2 separate regions of the Homo sapiens genome follow, and region 1 is linked to region 2. The links are contacts of gene promoters, found by promoter capture Hi-C in blood cells and fetal thymus (Javierre and others, 2016). All regions are on one chromosome and are shown on one strand. Each heading gives the region's core, a stretch centred on a gene start or on the middle of the fragment in contact. The rest is flanking DNA. Distances are from core to core; before and after follow the strand shown.

The links. Contacts are between HindIII fragments. The CHiCAGO score rates a contact against its expected background, and 5 or more counts as called.
Region 1: a fragment that was not itself captured here is called in contact with the fragment with the promoter of ZNF22 in region 2 in 2 of 17 cell types (M2 macrophages and fetal thymus); the score reaches 6.7 in M2 macrophages.

What each region holds. Positions count from the first base shown.
Region 1 is chr10:45,674,039-45,678,095 of GRCh38, reverse strand. No RefSeq gene overlaps it. Among named protein-coding and RNA genes, the nearest start is that of ZFAND4, 3.3 kb to the right of the region's middle. The HindIII fragment of the contact is 504 bases long and covers 1,317-1,820 here.
Region 2 is chr10:44,998,719-45,002,571 of GRCh38, reverse strand. ZNF22 (zinc finger protein 22) reads right to left here and starts at 1,649. Exons shown (of 2, transcript NM_006963.5): 1 at 1,594-1,649. LOC124902530 reads right to left here. Exons shown (of 3, transcript XM_047426129.1): 3 at 189-1,792. The coding sequence ends at 1,163. It overlaps ZNF22-AS1 (ZNF22 antisense RNA 1), which reads left to right and starts at 1,769. Exons shown (of 4, transcript NR_126421.2): 1 at 1,769-2,042; 2 at 2,156-2,286; 3 at 3,150-3,255. RefSeq lists an enhancer at 1,033-1,533 and a silencer at 1,260-1,609. The HindIII fragment of the contact is 6,687 bases long and covers 1-3,853 here.

The DNA.
Region 1 (4,057 bases), core at 319-2,818, 680 kb before region 2:
TACACCTGAATTGTTGACTGCTTTTGTAACTAAACACTCCTCTCCTGTCTTCCAACGAGTGGTCATTTTTGTCCGCAACTTGACCACAGCAATCCCTGGGGCCCTAGCGCTACTCTCAATAAAGAGTTATGGCTGTGTGTTTTGAATGACACCTTAGGACCCATCCTGCCTCCACCTCCTTCTCCATAAAATGGAAACCTAACTTGTCCCTCTCCAAGCTCTGAAATGCTGAAACTTACCAACTCCCTTTTCTCCCCGCTATTTCTTCCTTCCGTGGCAGGGACTTTCAGGTTTTCTTTCTTTTACTAACAAGGCACTAAGCATGATTTTCTCATACAAAATCGAGAGCCATAAAGTGGCTTACCACAGTCCTATTTCAATAAAGATGAATACTCGACATCTGGCAAGTAGTGTGTGCCTGACACTGTGCTATGCTCATTTAACCCTCAGAAACAATGTCATTTTACAGATTTTACTGAAGGAGTTGAGATGGAGAAGGTAAGTAACCTCCCCAAGGTCACATGGCTGCTAAGGTTGGGGCCACAATTTGATCCCAGGTAGTCTGAATTCCCCAATTCCTGAAGCATGATTATCGGAAAGCACATTAGTCTGTTTCACACTGATATAAAGAAATACCTGAGGTTGGATAATTTATAAAGGAAACAGGTTTAATTGATTCACAGTTTCGCATGGCTGGGTAGGCTTCAGGAAACTTACAATCATGGCAGAAGGGGAACCAGGTCCGACTTACATGGTGGCCGCACAGAGAGTGGGAACATGTGAAGGAGCAACTGTCAAACATGTGTAAAACCATCAGATCTCAGCTGGGCTTGGTGGCTCACACTTGTAACCCTGGTACTTTGGGAGGCCAAAGCAGGTGGATCAACTGAGGTCAGGAGTTCGAGACCAGCCTAGCTAACTTAGTGAAATCCCGTCTCTACTAAAAATACAAAAATTAGCTGGGTGTGGTGGCGCATGCCCGTAATCCCAGCTACTCAGGAGGCTGAGGCAGGAGAATCACTGGAACCCAGGAGGCAGAGGCTGCAGTGAGCCAAGATCGCGCCATGGTACTGCAGTCTGGGTGACAGAGCAAGACTCCATCCAAAAAACAAAACAAAACAAAACCCTATAAGATCTCATGAGGACTTACTGAATATCACAAGAACAGCATGAGGATAACTGCCCCCGTGATCCAATCACCTCCCCCTAGGCCCCTCCCTCGACACATCAGGATTATGGGGATTATAATTCATGATGAGATGTGGGTGGGGGGACATGGCAAAACCATATCAGAAAGTAAAGGTAGAAGTCAAGCTTGAACAGGAAATGACATTGTAGATTACTATTTTTTTTTTCTTTTTTTTTGAGATGAAGTTTTGCTCTTGTTGCCCAATGAAGTTGTTTTTCTAATTTCATTTTCAGATTGTGTCTTGCAGATGTGTAGAAATACAATTGATAAATGATTCTGGCTATTAACCTTTGATGCTTCAACCTTGCTGAACATGTTTTTTTTTTTTTTTTTTTGAGACGGAGTTTAGCTCTTGTTGCCCAGACTGGTGGCATGATCTTGGCTCACCACAACCTCCGCCTCCCGGGCTCAAGAGATTCTTCTGCCTCAGCCTCCCTAGTAGCTGGGATTACAGGTATGTGCCACCATGCCCGGCTAATTTTGTATTTTTAGTAGAGATAGGGTTTCTCCATGTTGGTCAGGCTGGTCTCGAACTCCCGACCTCAGGTTATCCGTCCACCTCGGCCTCCTAAAGTGCTGGGATTACAGGCATGAGCCACCGTGCCCGGCCAAATCTGCTTATTTTTAAGCTTTTTGATGCTTTTCTGTTTTGTTTCAGTTTTTTTTCCTATTTATTAATACAAGTTCTTTAGGTATTTTGGATAATTGTTAAAAAGCTTTTTAATTTGTTCATTGGTTTCTTTGCTGTGAAGGTTTTCAATTTGGCATTGTCCCATGTTTAGTTTGGCTTTTCATGTCTCCACTTTTGTGACATATTCTGTAAATTATTGTCAAGATCAATACCTAGAAACTTCTAGACAAAAACCTAAAAGAAAAGTTTTCTCATTTCAGGTCTTACACTTAAATGTTGTTTTTTGATTTTTTTTTTTTTGGAGACAGAGTCTCGCTCTGTTGCCCAGGCTGGAGTGCAGTGGTGCGATCTCGACTCACTGCAGCCTTCGCCTCCCGGGTTCAAGTGATTCTCCTGCCTTAGCCTCCTGAGTAGCTGGGACTATAGGCACGCGCTACCACGCCCAGCTAATTTTTGTGCTTTTAGTAGAGACAGGGTTTTGCCATGTTGGCCAGGATGTTCTCGACCTCCTGACCTTGTGATCCACCCGCCTCCGCTTCCCAAAGTGCTGGGATTACAGTCATGAGCCACCACGCTTGGCCACATTTAAATCTTTAATAAATTTTTATTGGATTTTCGTTTGGCAAACTATGCTACCCCCCCCCCCCCACTGTCTGATCTTGTTAATAAAGTTTTATTGGAACACAACCACATTCATTGATTTACTTACTTTCTATTGTTGCTTTCACCCTACCTCCAATGTAAGAGTTGAGTAATTATGACGAGACCGGATGGCTCACAGAGCCTCAGATGTTTTCTATCTGCCCCTTTTATTTATTTTTTTGAGACGGAGTCTTGCTCTGTCACCCAGGCTGGAGTGCAGTCATGTGATCTTGGCTCACTGCAACCTCTATTTCCTGGGTTGAAGCGATGCTCCTGCCTCAGCCTCCCGAGTAGCTGGGATTACAGGCGCCTGCCATCACACCCAGCTAATTTTTGTATTTTTAGTAGAGTTGGGGTTTCACCATGTTGGCCAGGTTGGTCTTGAACTCCTGACCTCGTGATCCACCTGCCTCGGCCTCCCAAAGTGCGGGGATAACAGGCGTGAGCCACTGCGCCTGGCCCTGCCCCTTTACATAAACAGTTCGCTGACCATTGCTCTAAGGCATTCTGTTCCATTCTTGCCTTGTGGAAGCAGCAGAATGAACCTAGGTAATAGCCGGGGGAAGTGCTGAGGATAGAAATGTCAGCCTCTAGAGCAGCACTGCCCCATAGAACTCTGCAGGAATGAAAATTTTCTTTATCTGCATCGTCAAAGGCAGTAGCCACTAGCCACCTGGATGGCTGACCCCATTCTAGTCTGTGTTTTTTGGTGCTCTGTCGTCTTGCTGCTGACTATTCAGCCTGTCACCATGGTGCAGTCTTGTAGGCCGCCCAGGTTGGTCTCAGCGATCCTGGAGCTACTGACTTCTTCCTTGGGCACTGTAAGATCAGACAGGGAATTACTCATACCCAGAGTCAAAGATTTTGTTCAGCTCCCACAGGTCAACCATTTGCCCAAGTCTGCTGTGAGAGTGACGTGATGACAGATGAGGGCACTTGCTAGTTGGCCACTCCTTTCCCCTATTCATTTTATGCATCTTCCTTCTGTCCGTAGGTTATTTGTGCACATAGTTTCTTGCTGTAGTACCCAATGTCGGTCAGAGTCAGCATTTGTTAAATACGATGATTTTCTTTTGGAACAACTAAATCTACTCATCAATCAGTAGGATTGGTTTCAGGGGATTCAGGAGACAACAGGTTTAGAAAATACGCAAGCTGCTATTTTGAGAGGCTTGAAAGGGAGAGAGAACTTACGTTAAAAAAAAGTTCCTATGGTAACAACTTTTAATGCTATTTTATTCAGTCTCCATGGTCTATCAGATAGGTAATGTAGTAACACTAATTTTACAGATAAAGCTAAAATCTGGAAGCAATGTGGAATAATGGAACAAGGTTGGATTTTTGTATTGTGTCCTAGTTTAAATATGGCTTTCCGACATAGAGCTGTTTGATTATAGGTAAATTGTTCTACTTTAATTGGCTTTTGTTTACTCCTTTGTAGACGAGGGATTTCACTACCAACTTTGCAGGATTGTGATGGGGAGAGAATACGTAAAGACCCTTATCAACTATCTGGCACTTGAAGAATGGCAGATGATAATGATGATGATGTTGTAAAGAATGAATGACTTGGCCAGGTAATGGAGCTTCTGGTA
Region 2 (3,853 bases), core at 400-2,899:
TTGAAAACCCAAAACGAAAGTACTGTTTTCGGAGACAGAAAAACTGCAAAAGAACTTTTACCAGAAAGTGGAATGAAACTGAGTAGAAAACGCATGGTAGGTAGGACACAAGAAAAGGAGAGGGGGGAGAAAATGAGTTTACATGTAAAACTAGGATGGAATTTTTAGAATACCCAAATGCTGCAAAATTCAAAATTTCAAATGATTTTATTTATTTATAAGGCTGACTTGTGGCTATTTAAAATAACGGCCAAAACAAACCAACAAAAACCCCTACAAACCCCACATAGGTGGCAATGTCGGAAAATCTAGAACTTCAAAAGCAATAAAATTATTGGAACTATTTTTCATTATCTTGTGTCAGAATGTGGAATTTAAAATAGAAACAATTATTCTGGGTTTCTTTGCATACAAACATATAAAGCAAATAAATGAAAACAAAAACATAATTTTTCTTGCCTTCCTTTCATCTTATTGTATAATTGAGACTTTAGGTCCAGGACTTTATCTGGATATTTAATAATTACATCAGCTGTAATTATGGTCAGCGTAAGAGTAAGCCGCATATAACACAAGATTACAGTTAGGACTACCCACTCCTTAACTTAAGCAAATATTTACAGAACATCTACCACACAGGAGACATTGTGTTAGGTACATGGTGTTGGTGTTGCTTTTTTTTTTTTTTAATAACTATAATGGTCATTATACATAAAAGCACACGCATTTAATACAATGGAAGTCAGATCTAGTCAGAAACTCAGACTGTCAAATCCACCTACGGATGAGGCAATCATACTAGTATGTGCCAGACACTGTGTAACTTGATTCTGTGCTAGCTCTTTAATTCTCCTGGCACCTTTATGCAGTTATTTCCGTTTTAAGTTAAGGAAACGAGGGCACAATGCTAGAAGGCACTGGCCGGGTTCCCAGACCCTAGCAGTTTGACTCCAGAGCCTGTACTCTTAGTGGCAGCCACATCTTCCATTGCTCAGTCCAGCGCGGCGACCCGTGCTTTGCATAGCTCCCCAGCAGGGGCAAGCACGAAGTTAAACCTGAGTGACAGAAGCTGCTGTTCTTGCACACCCAGCTAACTGGAATGTGCCTCAGTTTCCTCGTAAAATGGGGAGGGTAATGATAAAGTGGCAACACCATCAAGATGTTAGAAGTTGCAATGAGTCTGAATCTGAAAACCGCTCAGAGCAGCCCTGTGCTGCCTAAGCATTTGTTCCACGTATCTAGTCCTCGAACGCTCCGAGCGACGGAAGGGGCCGGGGCTGCTGCTCACCCGCCCAGTTCCACCCGCCGCGGGCCGCGCCTCGCCCGGGCCCCCAGTCCAAGCCTCCCGTTCCCAGCACTCCGCCGGCCGCTCCTCATTGACCCGGCCCGCCCGCCGCGCAGGCCGCGGCCCCACCCTGGGCCCGCGTGGCCCTCCCGCCCCCGCCCGGCGGCCAGGCCCTGCCCGGAGGCGGGAGACGCAAGCCACGCCATCGCCCGGGCCCGCGCCGCCCTCGTTGCGGCCAGCGCGCTCCCGAGCGGACCCGAGTATCCGACGCAGGCCCCGAGCGCCCCAAGTGCCCCAATCCCACTCACCGCGCGGGACCAGCCACCACTCTGGCTCGCTGGGCGCCTCCCGCGCCGCCGGAAGTGAGGGCCTCGCCGCGCTCTGGCGCCGCCGCGGTCGCTCTAGGAAAGTGGCGGAGCGACCCTCTATGGTCCCGGGCCCACCCGAAAGCGTTGTTCGTTTCTTCCTGTGGTTTTGTTTTCTCCTCCCCCCAACTCGGAAGGCGTCCTGTGACCCCCGGGACCTCAAGAGCTGTAACCGCCCCTGTGTGTGGTCGAGGCTTTTGAAACCAAACTCTAGCCTCTCCAACCTAGAAACTGCATACTTTCCACAAATTTTGAGATTTTTGAGACCCTGGTACTTTTCACGAAGTCACCTTAATTATCACCAAAAAGCTCCTGCAAGATGGGAGTGGTTATACTCCATTTACAGGAAAGGAACCAAGGCTCAGAGAAGAAATGTGCTCCGTTCACCGTGTGTAAGCGGACGACCCAGAATTGGAATGGTTCTTTGTGGCTCCAAAGTCTGATTTCAACACACCCCTTTTGTTGCTCATTAGTAATGATCTCTCTTTGTTCTTATTCCTTCCAGGCTCCTCCTCAGCCATCCTGGCCGTGCTCAGTCATCTGACCAGCTGACCTCCGTGTTCCCCCACTCCCTGGGGAGCTCCTCCGCCTTTTGGCTTCCAATGCTATTGCTGCATGCTGAAGACTCCCGCATTGGTAACTCCAGTCTGACTGTGGGACATAAATGTTATTGAACTTTAGACTTGTATATCGAACTGATTACTCAAGAGCTGCATTTGCATGTGTAATGGACATCCCAAACCTAACATACCCCCCAAATGAATTCCTGATATCTACCTAACCTGTTCTTGCAACAGTCTTCTTCCCAGGGATGGGTGAAGATCCCATCATCTTTCCAGTTGCTCAAGCCAAAAACCTTGATGTCACTGTTGTCTCTTCTTTTTTTCATCCAAAATTCACCTGTGATTTATCCACAAATTCTGTCGGCTTCATCGTTAAAATATATTCATTATCAAGCCACTTTCAACACTTCCACTGCTATAACCACCAAGCCACCTTCATCCACCTTCTGGATTATTATATTGGCTTCCAGACGGGTTGCCCTACAGTCTATTCACGGCCCCAGAGTAATCCTCTTAAACCTAAGTTAGATCATGTCATTCATTTGTTCAAAACCTTCAAAGGCTTCCCAACTTATTAGAGCAAAGCCAAGGACCTCGCAGTGGCACCCGATGCCTCTCATGATCTGTCTCTTTAGTTCTTTATTGTGTCTGCAGTGCTGAAAACAGTGCTCAGCAGGGAACAGACACTCAGTAAATAGCTGTTGAATGAATGAATTTATAAGATGCCTTATTGTTTACAAAGTACTTTTACATCTTATCTTCTGGTTATTCATCTTCACCATAGTCTCATGAAGCACAGATTATCATATCTGTCTTGCAAATCAGTAAACTGAAGCAAGAGAGGCTGACCTGCCTGAAGTAATACAGTGGTTTGTTGGTGGAGGCTAAACTAAGTCATAGGTTCATTCTCTTAAGTTGGGGCTTTCTGCTCTGTAGGGAGCTGTCTCTGCATATGGCAAAGCACAAAGCTGAATGAGGTCTGGACAAAGAAGCTCCACTCGCAATCTAGAGAGTATCTGGACTATTGCAGTGATTAAATGAGGTAATGTAAGGCACTTAGCACAATGTATAACACAGAAGAAATGAGAGTCGTTGTTACTTTTATTATTAAATTGTTATAAGTTGGTTGATGCTGGTGGTTGGAGAGTTTGGGGTAAAGGGCAATGGCCAGAGATCTAGAAATGGTTTAGGAAAAGCGTCAGGAGCAAACATGACCCGTTGGGACTGTCTGCTCTATGTACACTAAAATAAAAAGATAATTTTTAAAAAGCCATTTTGTTAGTAAGGTAGTTACTAATTAAAACTAACTCCTTTAATGTCTACATAAAGATGGATTATCCCTTTTTCCTATACCTGAAAACAACTGGGCCAGCCATAGAAGGGCCAGAGGTATGTCAACTAAAGCATTGGGTAAACGAGGATGGATTTTTTAAAAAGAGAGAGACGAAAGTCAGGAAATAAAGGGGTGTGTGTCCCTAAGTGTGGACAGAGTCCTGGGCAGTAAGGATGGAGAGGAGGGAGAGCCAGAAAAATATATGAAGGAGAGGAGGGTAAAGGAGAATGGGAAAAAGACAGGGAGAGAAAGCAGGTAGGGTTTTATGCCTTCAGCCTAGCTGTTAGTATAATAATAGTTAACACTT